Linked DNA regions of Homo sapiens: all the other regions are linked to region 1. Evidence: promoter capture Hi-C in 16 types of primary human blood cells and fetal thymus (Javierre and others, 2016). All regions are on one chromosome and are shown on one strand. Each heading gives the region's core, a stretch centred on a gene start or on the middle of the fragment in contact. The rest is flanking DNA. Distances are from core to core; before and after follow the strand shown. Region 1 holds the start of EXOSC6 (exosome component 6). Region 2 overlaps SF3B3 (splicing factor 3b subunit 3). Region 3 overlaps SF3B3 (splicing factor 3b subunit 3).

The links. The method cuts DNA at HindIII sites, captures the fragments that hold promoters and counts their contacts. A CHiCAGO score of 5 or more calls a contact.
Region 2: a fragment that was not itself captured here is called in contact with the fragment with the promoter of EXOSC6 in region 1 in 3 of 17 cell types (erythroblasts, megakaryocytes and fetal thymus); the score reaches 20.4 in erythroblasts.
Region 3: a fragment that was not itself captured here is called in contact with the fragment with the promoter of EXOSC6 in region 1 in 6 of 17 cell types (erythroblasts, megakaryocytes, total CD4 T cells and 3 more); the score reaches 16.7 in erythroblasts.

The regions. Positions count from the first base shown.
Region 1 is chr16:70,249,862-70,254,860 of GRCh38, reverse strand. It overlaps EXOSC6 (exosome component 6), which reads left to right and starts at 2,921. Exons shown (of 1, transcript NM_058219.3): 1 at 2,921-4,999. The coding sequence starts at 2,961. The coding sequence ends at 3,779. AARS1 (alanyl-tRNA synthetase 1) reads left to right here. Exons shown (of 21, transcript NM_001605.3): 17 at 127-240; 18 at 823-942; 19 at 1,061-1,147; 20 at 1,480-1,593; 21 at 1,955-2,563. The coding sequence ends at 2,140. RefSeq lists enhancers at 1,380-1,880, 2,515-2,704, 2,745-2,794 and silencers at 3,175-3,264, 3,395-3,714. The HindIII fragment of the contact is 9,148 bases long and covers 703-4,999 here.
Region 2 is chr16:70,560,651-70,565,649 of GRCh38, reverse strand. SF3B3 (splicing factor 3b subunit 3) reads right to left here. Exons shown (of 26, transcript NM_012426.5): 17 at 3,866-4,020; 18 at 1,600-1,774; 19 at 380-585; 20 at 126-282. Among named protein-coding and RNA genes, the nearest start is that of SNORD111, 25 kb to the right of the region's middle. The HindIII fragment of the contact is 3,481 bases long and covers 167-3,647 here.
Region 3 is chr16:70,545,152-70,550,150 of GRCh38, reverse strand. SF3B3 (splicing factor 3b subunit 3) reads right to left here. Exons shown (of 26, transcript NM_012426.5): 11 at 1,709-1,781. Among named protein-coding and RNA genes, the nearest start is that of SNORD111, 9.6 kb to the right of the region's middle. The HindIII fragment of the contact is 3,294 bases long and covers 1,281-4,574 here.

The DNA.
Region 1 (4,999 bases), core at 1,672-4,171:
CACTTTTGGGGTGTTGGGGTATGTTGCTGCAAGGCCTACCGCCGGGGCTTCCGCAGCTGCTCAGACACAGGATAGTGAGTCTGACTCAGACCTCCTGCTTGGGGTTGACCCGGTGTCCCCTCCCAGGCCCTCAGGAAAGCAGAGAGCTTGAAGAAATGTCTCTCTGTCATGGAAGCCAAAGTGAAGGCTCAGACTGCTCCAAACAAGGATGTGCAGAGGGAGATCGCTGACCTTGGAGAGGTAGGGGCGGCTTCCCTCCCTCCGTCCTCAGGGCCTGGTGCATGAAACATGCCCCGTCTTCAGGAAATCATCTGTAGTCAGTCAGGCCCTGGTTCTTGGTGGAATGGGCCTTTGGGCTGACTTCTGTTGTCCTGTAGCCTTGTAGCAGGGACCCCATGGATCCTGTCCTTGGACCCTGGACATTCCCTGCTGCTCCCAGTGCTGCTAGCAGGAGAGCTCTTCCCAAGCATGTATGGGCACTGGGGTGGAGGGATTTGGGGAATGGGCTAAGGCTGGCCCCTGCTTCCAAGCCTGCCTGGTATTTATTTGCATTTCAAGCTGCCAGGAAGCTTATCACAGGCTGTTCCCAGCCTGGTAAGGACCGGGCCTGATTTGGGAGCCCAGCTTTCTGCTGCTCCTTTCTCTCTAGCCCTGCTTGTTTCACCTGCCACAGCTGCTCCTAAAGGGACTGGTCTCAAAGCTTTCCTTGCTTTCCTTTCCAGGACACTAGTCAGGGAGGACTTGGGTTCGGGTGGGGTGGGCTGGACCCTGACATCCCAGCAAGTTGTGGCCCAGATTGAGATGGTCGTCTATTGGTTCCAGGCCCTGGCCACTGCAGTCATCCCCCAGTGGCAGAAGGATGAATTGCGGGAGACTCTCAAATCCCTAAAGAAGGTCATGGATGACTTGGACCGAGCCAGCAAAGCCGATGTCCAGAAACGAGTGAGTCCTGGCAGCACCAGTGGCCAGAGTGTTTCCTAGGCAAAGGCTGGCAGAACAGCCAGGGGTTCGGGGCCTGGGCTTTTGGTCTGAGCTGCTGTTCTGGACTTTTTTCTTGCAGGTGTTAGAGAAGACGAAGCAGTTCATCGACAGCAACCCCAACCAGCCTCTTGTCATCCTGGAGATGGAGAGCGGCGCCTCAGCCAAGGCAACCCAGGGGCCAGGGTCCCCTCCCCTAGGGCTCATCAGCTCTCTGGTGGCTGACATGTGGCCTCTGTGGCTCTGAGCGAAGTGGTTGCCTAAGGGCCCACGGTCTGGGATTGAGATTGGGAGGAGCAGCAGCTCCCTGCATGTGGGAGGCATACCTGGGCCAGGGTAGGGGCAGGGCCCGGCGCTGGGGTCCTCCCCACAGGCCCTGGGCACAGCCCCTGCTCTGGGAAGGGGTAGGGGTGGGTGGCAGGCCTTCTGAGGGCTGCAAATGCTCACACTAGTGAGGGTCCCTGCTCCAGCACCGTGGCCTGAGCCAGGTCCTCCCCACAGGCCCTGAATGAAGCCTTGAAGCTCTTCAAGATGCACTCCCCTCAGACTTCTGCCATGCTCTTCACGGTGGACAATGAGGCTGGCAAGATCACGTGCCTGTGTCAAGTTCCCCAGGTCAGCACCACCTCGCACCAGTGGGAAGTGTTAGGTCTTAAGGTTGTTGGCTGAGGCCTGTGTGTGTACAGCCTGCATTCGAAACAGCCTTTCTGCCCACCGGTTGGTTACCTTTGCCAGTACCCCTTACCCAGGCCTTCTTATTGGTGAAGACATCTGGTTGATACCTGGCTTTGCCACTCTGTCCTGTCCTGGCAGTGGCCATGGCCGCCCCCTGTACCAGCCGTAAAGTCTGTCTCGGCCTCCAGCAGTATCACCCAGGGCAAGGAGTGGGTGATGGCTCCTCCATCCTTTCTTTCCCTGCATTCCTCCCTCAATCCCATCTTCTGTGCTGACTCCCCCTTCCCTTCCTGTCTTCTAGAATGCAGCCAATCGGGGCTTAAAAGCCAGCGAGTGGGTGCAGCAGGTGTCAGGCTTGATGGACGGTAAAGGTGGTGGCAAGGATGTGTCTGCACAGGCCACAGGCAAGAACGTTGGCTGCCTGCAGGAGGCGCTGCAGCTGGCCACTTCCTTCGCCCAGCTGCGCCTCGGGGATGTAAAGAACTGAGTGGGGAAGGAGGAGGCTCCCACTGGATCCATCCGTCCAGCCAAGAGCTCTTCATCTGCTACAAGAACATTTGAATCTTGGGACCTTTAAAGAGCCCCTCCTAACCCAGCAGTAACTGGAACACACTTGGGAGCAGTCCTATGTCTCAGTGCCCCTTAAATTTCTGCCCTGAGCCCTCCACGTCAGTGCCATCGGTCTAGAACCACTAACCCCGCATTGCTGTTGATCGTCACGCTCGCATCTATAGATAACGGCTCTCCAGACCTGAGCTTTCCGCGTCAGCAAGTAGGAATCGTTTTTGCTGCAGAGAATAAAAGGACCACGTGCAATACTTAATGCCGCATGATCTCTATCCCTCTTCCCAATAGGGGCTGGCTCTTTTGACAGCCTTTGGCGTCTGTAGAATAAATGCTGTGGCTCCTGCTGGCTGCTGTGGTGTTCACCTAGTCCAGCCCCAGAACCCAAAATTTTGGGAACAGCCCCTAGGGCTGCCTCAAACGTCTGTGGAGGTGGAGGCCAAATAGGTGGGGTGACTTGGAGCAAGGCGTTCATAATTCAGTAGATGAGGGGTGGAGGTAGTTGGAAGCAGAGAAGCCTTTCTTGGAGCTGCTCTCCCCCCTCCCTTCCAGCAAGATGGATGGATCCGGCTACCCTGCACAACTGGGACCGGGCCGTTCTCCCTCCGGGCCTCCAGGGGCGCTGTAGTGCCTCCCGCCGCTCTCTCGACAGCCCATGCGCAGCCGCGCGTCTTTAAACAACGGAAGAACCAGTGGATGCGGCAGGGCGTTGGGCGGAAGGGGTTCGCACGCCAAGAACCGCCATGCCTGGGGATCACCGCCGCATCCGCGGCCCTGAAGAATCGCAGCCGCCGCAGCTGTACGCGGCCGACGAGGAGGAGGCGCCCGGCACCCGCGACCCAACGCGGCTACGGCCCGTGTACGCGCGCGCCGGGCTGCTGAGCCAGGCCAAGGGCTCGGCCTACCTGGAGGCGGGAGGCACCAAGGTGCTGTGTGCCGTGTCGGGCCCGCGACAGGCCGAGGGCGGCGAGCGCGGCGGCGGCCCGGCCGGAGCAGGCGGCGAGGCCCCGGCCGCGCTGCGCGGTCGCCTGCTCTGCGACTTCCGCCGCGCACCCTTCGCGGGCCGCCGGCGCCGCGCTCCCCCGGGCGGCTGCGAGGAGCGTGAGCTGGCGCTGGCGCTGCAGGAGGCGCTGGAGCCGGCTGTGCGCCTGGGCCGCTACCCGCGCGCGCAGCTCGAGGTGTCGGCGCTGCTGCTGGAGGACGGTGGCTCGGCCCTGGCCGCCGCGCTCACCGCCGCCGCGCTCGCCCTGGCCGACGCGGGCGTGGAGATGTACGACCTGGTGGTGGGCTGCGGCCTCAGCCTCGCGCCGGGGCCCGCGCCCACCTGGCTCCTGGACCCCACGCGGCTCGAGGAAGAGCGCGCCGCCGCCGGCCTCACCGTGGCGCTCATGCCTGTGCTGAATCAGGTGGCCGGGCTGCTGGGCAGCGGCGAGGGCGGCCTGACAGAGAGCTGGGCGGAGGCCGTACGCCTGGGCCTCGAGGGCTGCCAGCGCCTCTACCCCGTGCTGCAGCAGAGCCTGGTGCGGGCCGCCCGCCGCAGGGGCGCCGCCGCCCAGCCCTGAACCAGAAGCCTGAGCAACTACGGACGCAAGCCGAGGACCGTGCTGCCGCCGTCCACGAAAAGACCCGCGCCATCGGCCTCCAGTTTGCGTCGAGAATTCCTGGAAGGGCCCTGATATGACTGTGGTTGGACTGACCTGACTGCCAGATGGTGGGACTTGGTCTGGAGCAGGGACTACTTGGAATGATAAAGGCAAAACTCAACAGCCCCTGGAGCTGCGCTTGTGGTGGAGCTGGACCCTGAAATTACCTGGACCTTTTTTTTAGAGACAGGGTTTCTTTCTGCAGTCTCAAACTCCTAGCCTTGATTGATCCTCCTGCCTTGGCCTCCCAAAGTGCTGGGACTACAGGTGCATGCAACCACACCTGGCTAATTTTCTTTTCTTCTTTCTTTCTTTTTTTTTTTTTTTTTTTTTTGATGGAGTCTTGTTCTGTTGCCCAGGCTGGAGTGCAATGGTGCAATCTTGGCTCACTGCAACCTCTGCCTCCTGGGTTCAATCCATTCTCCTGCCTCAGCCTCCCAAGTAGCTGGGATTACAGGCACATGCCTCCATACCGGGCTAATTTTTGTATTTTTAGTAGAGATGGGGTTTCGCCATGTGGGCCAGGCTGTTCTCGAATGCCTGACCTCAGGTGATCCACCCGCCTTGGCCTCCCAAAGTGCTGGAATTACAGGTGTGAGCCACTGTGCCCAGCTGAGTAAATTTCTTGATTGCACAGAATGTACGGTGATATTGGCGGACTTAAGGACATCGAATTGTTTATCAGGAATAAAGTATTATGTGTGTTTTCTGCGGCCCTGGATAATGCTGTAGCATTCAGGGTCGATTGAGTAAAAAAAATGTAGAGATGGTTTCCTGTTTGTTTTTGCTTCTAGTTTTCATTCATTTGCTATTTATTCTCTTCTGGCTTTGCTTGTGTATGCATATATATAAAACCATTATTATTATTATTATTATTTTTAGTTTCTAGTGGAAGGCTTTTATTTGGTTCTGTGAATAGTCATTTTGTTTCCTAAGAACTTCCAGCAAGTTGTATTCATTCCATTCATCTAGAATTCCTAGGCTGCCTTTGTCGGGCCTGCAGGTATTAATGGAGAATAGCAGCTTTTTATTTTTTTATATTTATTTTTTGAGACAGAGTCTCACTCTGTTGCCCAGGCTGGAGTGCAATGGCGCGATCTCAGCTCACTGCAACCTCCGCCTCAGAGGTTCAAGTGATT
Region 2 (4,999 bases), core at 658-3,157, 310 kb before region 1:
TGTGCTGGTAAGAGAGAGATTGGAATCAAGGAGCTGGTCCCCAAAAGACCTGATCCATAACATAAGCAAAAGTGAGAGAATTCAATGGGACTTAAAATCTAGGAGAACCACTGGCAGATTCCTACCTTGTGCAAAAACTCCAGTTTTTCCCCATTGTTCACAAGCTTGTAAGTATAGACGAAGCCCCCTGCCACAGATCGGGGGTTTAGTATCAGGTCCTTGGCCACACCCACCAGCACATACCAGTCTTCACCAGTGTTGGAAAACCTGCACACAGCCACACTACACACAGAATAAGAAGCAAGAGTAAGGCCTTAGTCAAAACTCAGAGAGCTCCTGTTCCAGCCTGCCAAACCCTGGACTGTCCTGGGCTGCTTACCTAAAAGCTGCCTCATTCTGTTCCAGCTGGACAAGGTCCAGTGTGTTCCCTTGAATGGGATTCATCACTCGGATCACAGAGGCCCACTGCCCATTGCCAGCCTTGGGAGCTCCAAAGATGGATTCAGGGAGGTTTTCATTGAGGAATGCTGCTGCCATCTCTGCGGCCAGCTCCCGCTCATCCTCCCCTGCTGCTTCCACCATTTCCTAAACCCAAAAAAACGAGTAACTGAGTTGGCGTGCTCAGAGGTAGGGGCTGGCTGAGAAGAGGATAGGTAGCAAGAACACTCCAGGGGGTTCTCAATACATAAAGCAGCAAAGTCAGCCATCCCAGCCAGGATTTCCCGACATGACTATTAAAGGGAGAGGTGTACAGACTAGGGAAGACAGAAGATCAGAAAGGGAAATCCAGACATTGCTGGTTACATATTAGTAGAAAACACCAAAAATAACAATAGCTGTGACAAATATTGGACTAGTGGCTTGAGAAAAATGACAACGGAAACTCCACTTTTCTATCCAACCCATCTGATTTCCCTTACTAAAACTACTCTGTCTCCACTCTTTAAGGATGGATACAGTTCTACGTGGTTGTAGCTATTTGGTTTCTGCTAGGCAATGAGTTCTAGAAAGAGCTGGTGTTGTGGAGAACATGAAAGCTGTCTCTTTTGGGCCCAAATAAAGGAAATACAGTCTATTTTGGAAGCTCAAGGACGGGAGAATTCTGTTTCAGAGAGGGAACTTAATTGTGAATAAATGGAGGTCAGAGTATAGTCCTGGGTTACAAGAAAGGCTCTAAAATGAAGTACTTTGGGGCAAAGGCCTCTGCTTAAAAAAGCTGAAAAAAGCCTAGATCTTTAAAAACAAAGAATATACTAACAATTACAGGAGTTTAAACTTTTGATAGAGTCTCGTGTCCAGAGTGCCACTGGTATGCAGTGGCATGATCATGGCTCACTGCAGTCTTGAACTCCTGGGCTCAAGTGATCCTCCTGCCTCAGCCTCCCAAGTAGCTGGGACTACAGGAGTGCACCAACACACCAGGCTATCTTTTAAAATTTTTAATAGAGGTGCAGTTTTGCTATGTTGCCCAGGCTGGTCTCGAACTAGTGGCCTCAAGCAATCCTCCCACCTCAGCCTCCCAAAGTGCCGGGCAGTTTAAACTTTTCAACATAATTTCACACATCTTTTAATAGAACCCCTGAACGTTAGTCTCATTACCTCTGCCATCTGCTGCTTTCTCTGAGCTTTCGTGGCCTCAGTGTAGGCATTGTGGTCCGTTTCAATGATAATAAGGTTGTTACTCTCAGGGTGGATGACAAATTTCCTGGGTGTGTACTGCAGTGGGAAGGCTACTTGATTGAAGACAGCACCGAGCTTCTCTAATGCCAAAATCCTATGACAAAAAAGCAAGGCAGTTATTTAATACTCACTCGGACCCAGAAACTGGTGTTGAAATAGACTTTGAGCAGTCAGCAAACACGTCAATCCCTGGAGCTCTAACGTTGGCATTAGGCAACATTAAACAACAGCCTCCTACTCTAGAAAACTCTGCGATGCAGACACAGAGATCCAGGAAGGGCCTTCCCATTTGGCAACACCCTACCACAATTCACAGCAGTTCTAGTTCCTACCAATGAAACACAAACGATTGTCAAAAGTTTTTTTTTAATCACTCCAATGATAATAAAGAGCCCAATCCCAAATTTGTTGTGAAACACTGCAATTACCTAAACATATATGGTATTTGTAGTGACTGTGCTTCATAAAATAAAGTGGATACCTTTGTGAACAAAAATCACCTCAGTTCAGGAAAACTATGACAATGCAAGAGACAGCAAATAAGGGACCTACAAATTTCTGTCAAATGGGACAGAGATGTACACATAAGCCAAACTATGTGCAAAATGAGCAGAACCCAGGTACTCTGAAAAGTATAGTTACCCGATCTCTAATGATGGAGTTTTATTTGTAGTTTATTCTCTACATTAAAAAAGATAGGGGCTGCGTGTGGTGGCTCACGCCTGTAATCTCAGCACTTTGGGAGGCCAAAGCAGGCAGATCACCTAAGGCTAGGAGTTCAAGACAAGCCTGGGTAACATGGTGAAACACCAACTCTGTTGAAAATACCAAAAAAAAAGCCATGTATGGTGGCGCACGCCTGTAGTCCCAGCTACTTGGGAGGCTGAGGTGGGAGAATCTCTTGAGCCCAGGAGCTCAAGACCAGCCTGGGCACCAAGGTGAAATCCTGTCTCTATAAAATAGAACACAAAAATTAGCCAGGCATGATGGCATGCGCCTACAGTCCCACCAGGTACTTGGGAGGTTGAGGCAGAAATAGCTTGAGCCCAGGAAGTTGGGGCTGCAGTGAGCCATGATCACACCACTGCACTCCAACCTGTACAACAGAGTAAGACCTTGTCTCAAAAAAAAAACTTAAAAATAAAAATAATTAAATAAAAAAATAAACTGCCTGCCAAGAACTCTGCTTTTATGTCTCATAAGTCACCTTCCCTGATTTAGTTTTGGGGGGAAGTAAGTTCTGCTGCTAGGAAAGCCTAAAAATCTGTAGCGATTGTCTAAATCTATAGCAATTCAGGAGGTAGGGGCCACAGATGAGGCTACAACAAGGCTGGCTTAAAAGACAAGGGGAACACTGACAGGCAGGTATGTATGTGGGTGAAGCATTCTAGCACAGGTAGAGATTAAAAAAATATTAAGTGATGTAGAGCAGTGCAGGGAGATCAATTCTGCTGGAGCAGAAGATAAATACAAAGATGACGGAAAGAAAAAGGACAATGACCATGAAAAGACCCTGAAAGTTGTTGCAAAGAAATTTTGGGAGCTCATTTGATAAGCAATAGTGATTAATCTATCAAGAGGCCATAGTTTCATTATGAACAGCCAATAGTTATAACCAGGATGTGAACAACTTTGGTGGCTTAATTTTAAAAGCCCCCCAAAACCTGAGGAAGCCAAACTGACTGAATTATTTTAGGTTCTTTTCCATCTTGCAAAGAATATTACATACAGTGCTCAAACTTCACATCAATATTACCAGGAAGAACAGTTTTGTCAACTTGAAAAAGGTCTAAATAACTTATAGATAGGTTAACATTTAAGATTTAATACCGCAAATGACAAGACAGAGTAAGAAAGGTTATCAATGCAGTGATCCAATACTTGCTCTAAAACTAATCCAATGGCAATACCCTTTTGCTAGAAAACAAAAATCTGAAATCTCAGGAAGATTGGACTGTATTAAAGCTTGGCCTTGAAAATCTTAACAGAAGCTAAAACACCGAAACTTGGCTCTCAGGTACTAAAATGCTGAGCCAAATGAAGGTTTCAATTGCAACACACAAGCTTCATGGTGAAGTCGGCTCTCTGCCACCTCTTCACAGCCTCCTCCAACACTCTGGCAGAACCAGTCTGAGCCCTTGGCAGAAAGGCTTCCTGCTGAGCTTCAAACATGAGACTCACTCACCGTAGGGTGTTGGTGGAGATGGCCACAATGCCCTCGGGACACTGTTCCGAGGCAAAACCCGATGCAAATTCCAGTGTCTCGTAAGACAGTGGGGTGAGATGGAAGCGAGATTGGTAAGAATAGCTCAACCATGAGCGGCTTGACATGGCCAATACCTGAGGGGAAAAAAAAAACCCAGCTCCAATAAGGTTTGGGAAAAAATACAAATATGGTATAAGCTGACCAAAAGCCCTATCCCCAAATTTCAGTCTGCAGAGTATCCTAAGATATTCTAGAAATATAACAGGCTATCTTAAGAAAAAGAGGGCTAGAGAGAGGCACTATGGCTTAGCATATGTGAAAAGCATGGGCTACGAGCCATATGATCTAGACTCACCATTTCATCTCTCTAAGCCTGCTTCCACGTGTGTAAAATGAAAACAGTACCACAAGGCTGGACAGCTGCAAGAATTAAATGGAATGAAGGCCAGGTGCGGTGGCTCATGCCTGTAATCCCAGCACTTTGGGAGGCCACGGCAGGCGGATCACCTGAAGTCAGGAGTTCGAGGCCAACCTGGCCAACATAGTGAAACCTCATCTCTACTAAAAATACAAAAATTAGCTGGGCGTGGTGGCATGCGCCTGTAATCCCAGCTAATCGGGAGGCTGAGGAAAGACAATTGGTTGAACCCAGGAGGCGGAGGTTGCAGTGAGCCAAGCTTGCACCACTACATTCCAGCCTGGGCGACAGAGTGAGACTCCATCTCAAAAAAAAAAACAACAAAAAACAGAATTAAATGGAATCAATTAGCACAGTGCCCAGAAACACTAACATTCTTAACTACAAAGGACACAATGTTTCCCAGTCTCTTTCACATTAGGTAGTAAACGTGACACTGATCTAAGACTGGGATAAAACCTGAGAATTCTCATGGCTAGTGGTGTCCTAGAGGGGAGGTTTCCAGCCCTATTTGACCAGCCAGAGGGCTAAAGGGATCGATATCTCTACCCAGCTATAACCAAATCATGACATGGTGCGATGGAGCCCCAGTGAGGAAGCTCTAGGTTAGGAAAACTCAGGACTTCTCACATGAAGGAAACCAATCAAGATGGAGTGGCAAATTAGTGACAGTGAAGCTTACAGCAAAGATTGTT
Region 3 (4,999 bases), core at 1,678-4,177, 300 kb before region 1:
GGCACTCAAAAACTAAACTTATCCTGAAAGAAACCACCAAGACCCACAGAATCTCACTGCAGTTAATCAAAATGGGCATTCAACTGAGATTCAGAAGCCAGGATATTCTGTCCCCATTACCTAGACTGTGTCTTGAGACACTCAACCCCTATAACTTCCTGTCTTCTTCATAAAAGTGAGAGTTAACTTTTCTGTAAACCTAAATCTCTTTTCTTTTTCTTTTTTTGACATGGAGTCTCGCTCTGTCACCCAGGCTGGAGGGCAGTGGTGCAATCTCGGCTCACTGCAACCTCCGCCTCCCAGGTTCAAGTGATTCTCCTGCCTCAGCCCCTTAAGTAGCTGGGATTACAGGCCTGCACCACCACGCCCAGCTAATTTTTGTATTTTTAGTAGAGATGGGGTTTCACCATGTTGGCCAGACTGGTCTCAAACTCTGACCTCAGATGATCCGCCCACCTCGGCCTCCCAATATGCTGGGATTACAGGCATGAGCCACCGCACCTGGCCCTAAATCTGTTTTAAAATAAAAAGTTTATTTAAAAAGTTAAAAGAAAAAAAGAAAGAACACAATAGGTTATCTTAAAACGTGTTTCTAATTCAAACAGTCTAGGCAATGCTTTCAAGGGCCATGAATATCAACAAGCCACCAAGCCAAAGTAAAACACCAACACGGACCAACTTCTATGTAGATACTACACATAAAACCAGGTGCCTAATAATTATCTCTTCAGCTTATAAGCCTACCCATTTCCTATTCACAATTTTCCCTTTCTACTCAACTTGGATATGATTCAAATGCCTACAATGAAAATTAAATCCACAAAAATGAGTATTCTACTAATAGTAAGTTGTTTTCCTCCTACATGTCTCCCAACTCCTTCAATCTGTTTCATACAGGCAGAATATCTAAATATCAGGCAGAATTACAGCTGTTTTCTTGAAAAACCTGTCTGCTAGCAAGGATGATGTTACTCACCCATCCCACATTCCTGAGAGAACAAGAGAAAAACGTAGCTCCAATGTGAATCAAGGGAAAATGAGACTGAGCTTTCTTTCTATGAGGCTGCAATTCAATTGTCACAAGACTTTCCTGCTATTGCAGTAACTACTAGGCATTCTCCTATTACTTTCAAAGTTTTAGGATCAGGTGACCATTTATATCCAGGAGCTCAAACTCCCTTCTCCTTCCCCATCCCCGCTTTTCTACTCACACTAAAATTCGAATTCCACTCAATTCCACTCTGCTTTCCTTAAGCACTAGCAAGATTGACTAACAAGCTTTCCCAAATCTCTTAATTCCTAGAACACCACCTTCAATTTCACTGTGGTTTCAAAACAATTTAAAAGAATATAGTTGAAGAAGAATGAAAAAGCACAACTTTCCCTCATATCATACCTCTTACAGATGAAACCAGTACCTTTATGAATATAAAGTCAATACCACATTTGACAGCTCTATGATTCTGAAACCTTTATGTACTAAAATATAACAGCCAACCTATGTTCCCCCTTTCCCACCTGCACAAAAAGAAATGGTAGGTGAAGGCATCCTGAACGGAAGAGCCTCAAAAACAGTGTTGGGCCAGAAAGTTTCTGGTATATGGTGCTAAATGAAATGATACAGAAGTATTATGAACGCAGCCTTTCAAGCCTTCTATGTCAATGGCACCTAGATCCTCATTTTGACTATTGGGAAAAAGCTGCTTACCTTCAATGTGTCGACGCACTGTCCAGACAGCGTTGGGGTTACCAGGTAGCTCAGAAACAGCCATTTCTGACACCTGACAGGAGAAGAGGGAAGCCACAGATCCAGTGAGCATGCAACTCAGCTACCTGCTTACAATCACATCAAAAAATAAGGTCTCAAAGGCAGGGTTCACAACGTATGCTGTATTTAAAGGATGAAACCACCTAGTGAAAGAAGAATCTAAGAACCAAACAGGCTGGTTCTTAGTGGCAATCCCCATGACAGTCTTAAGCAAAAGTTACAGGATGTCTGAGAGGGTACAGTTGCTGCAGGCAAAACCATACCCCTTTCCTTCAAGTACAATATGCCTTGATCATCCTCAGAACAGCAGTAACCACTGGGAATCAATCAGGCCATCTAAATTAGCATCCCCTTTCTTTCCCCAGCTCCCATAAGGCCAAATCCCATGTGGACCAATTCAAATGCCACCTCCTTTAACAAAATTATTCCCTTATCCCCTTGGCTGGCAGTCACCTCTCCCTTCTATAAGCACTCATAGAAATCAGTCACCACCGGCTGGGCCCAGTGGCTCACACCTGAAATCCCAGCACTTTGGGATGCCGAGGCGGGTGGATTGCCTTAGGTCAGGAGTTCAAGACCAGCTGGCCAACACGGTGAAACCCGTCTCTGCAAAAATATAAAAATTAGCCAGGCATGATGGCGGGTGCCGTAATCCCAGCTACTCGGGAGGCTGAGGCGGGAGAATCGCTTGAACCCGGGAGGCGGAGGTTGCGGTGAGCTGAGATTGCATCATTGCACTCCAGCCTGGGTGACTGAGCGAGACTCCGTCTCCAAAAAAAAGAAAGAAATCAGTCACCACCTCTTAGGGTACTAACTGTTTTGTCTTTCTGATTAGATTTTTATGCTCCTTAAAGTCAAGAGTGAATGATTCTCTACATGTCCTATAGGTTCTCAAACATAAGAGTAAACAAAACATCTAAGCCAAATTCAAAATGATCTAGAGGGGAAAACTGGGTGTAGGTTATACAGGAACTCTCTGTACTGTCTTTGCAATTTTTTTATAAATTTAAAATCATTATAAAATTAAAATTATTGAATGTTTTTAAATGATCTAGAGACAATAAACTAGCCACTTATATATAACGTGTAACCCACATCTTATAGGAAGAATTCATGTATATTCACAGAAAGACTAGCCCTTTTCCTAGTTTACTGGTATAATTAGAAGGAAGACCTAAGAACTTCATCATCAATAAAATTCAACTGTCAACTATGCTATAGTCTATACCAAATGTAAAACTGTCAGTCACCCTGGCTCAATTGAGACCACAATCTAGTTAGACAACAAGGTGTAACAAATAGACATAAAGGAATAAAGCAACGTTCAACAATTTAAAAAAAAATTTTTTTTTTTTGAGACGGAGTCTCGCTCTGTCGCCCAGGCTCGAGTGCAATGGCGCGATCTTGGCTCACTGCAAGCTCCACCTCCCGGGTTCACGCCATTCTCCTGCCTCAGCCTCCTGAGTAGCTGGGACTACAGGCGCCCGCCACCACGCCTGGCTAATCTTTTTGTATTTTTAGTAGAGACGGGGTTTCACCGTGTTAGCCAAGATGGTCTCGATCTCCTGACCTCGTGATCTGCCCACCTCAGAAAATATTTTTATATATAACAAAGGTTTGTCTATAGATTTGAAGTGGGGAGAGAAGTAGCAGGAAACTAAAAAATGATTCTTGAGTCATTTATCTCTTACACTATACAAAAATTTTCTGTTAATGCACATATGCATTTTTTTAGAGACAGTATCACTCTTTTGCCCAAGCTGGAGTACAGTGGCGTGATCTCGGCTCACTGCAACCTCTACCTCCCAGTTCAAGCTATTCTCCTGCCTTAGTCTCCTGAGTAGCTGGGATTACAGACACCCACCACCACTCTCGGCTCATTTTTGTAGTTTTAGTAGAGAAGGGGTTTCACCATGTTGGCCAGGCTGGTCTCGAACTCCTGACCTTGGGTGATCCAGCTGCTTCAGCCTCCTAAAGTGCTGGAATTACAGGCGTGCGCCACCGTGCCCAGCCGCACATATGCATTTTTTGTGTAAAGCACTAGCTTTCATCATATGCTCACTAGGATCCAATGAGAAATAAGTAACTAACGAATCAAGAGCAATGGCTCTTGGCCAGGCGCGGTGGCTCACGCTTGTAATCACAACACTTTGGGAGGGTGAAGTGGGAGGCTCACTTGAGCCCAGGAGTTCAAGACCAGCCCTGGCAAAATAGCAAGACCCTGTCTCTACCAAAAATAAATAAATAAATTAGCCAAGCGTGATGGCGCACACCTGTAGTCCCAGCTACTCCAGAAGCTAAGGTGGGAGAATTGCTTGCTTGAGACTGGGCGTTGGAGGCTACAGTGAAGCAAAGTCTCACCACTGCACTCAAAAAAACAAAAACAAAAACAACAACAACAAAAAACCAAAAACCAGACCTATGGCTCTAAATTGGGTCTGAGTCATTGAAATTTTGGTGAACTGATGAATATATTTTGGCAGAGACAAAACATTTTCAAATTCCCTGAAACACCAATGTTAACAGCTAACATTTATCGAACACTTCATGCCATACCTTAAGCTAAGTGCTTTGTTTGTTATCAACTCATTTAATTCACATAATTCTTTATGGCAGGTACCATTATTAAGTCCATTTAACAGAAGAAACAAAAACTTAGTAATAGCTATTAAGTGGTAGAGCCAGAATTCAAAACCCAGATTATCTTGGGCGTGTTCCAATAAAAATTTACAGAAACAGGTAGCAGGCCTCTTGAGAGCTCAGATTGCCATTCCCAAGCGCTCAAAACAAACTGTTATAGGAAGCTTTTTATTTTATTCCTAACAAGTTCAAGTTCAGGGCCCTCACTAGAAAGCATTAACATTAGGACTACGATACACAGAGAATATGGGATTCAAGAAGATAACTTTTAGTGTCCACATTACCTAAAAAGTCCAGCAATAAAAGATTCACTAAATAAATTATGATCTACCCACTTTGGTGAAACATTGCAGAAACACTAAAAATTATGCTACTTGGCCAGGTGCGGTGGCTCACGGCTGTGATCCCAGCACTTTGGGAAGCCAAGGCAGGCAGATTGCTTGACCCCAGGAGGTCAAGACCAGCCAGGGAAACATGATAAGACTCTGTCTCTACAAAAAGTACAAAAATTAGCTGGGTGTTGTGGCACGTGCCTGCAGTCCCCAGTTATTCAGGAGGCTGAGGTGGGAGGATCACCTGATCCCAGGAAGG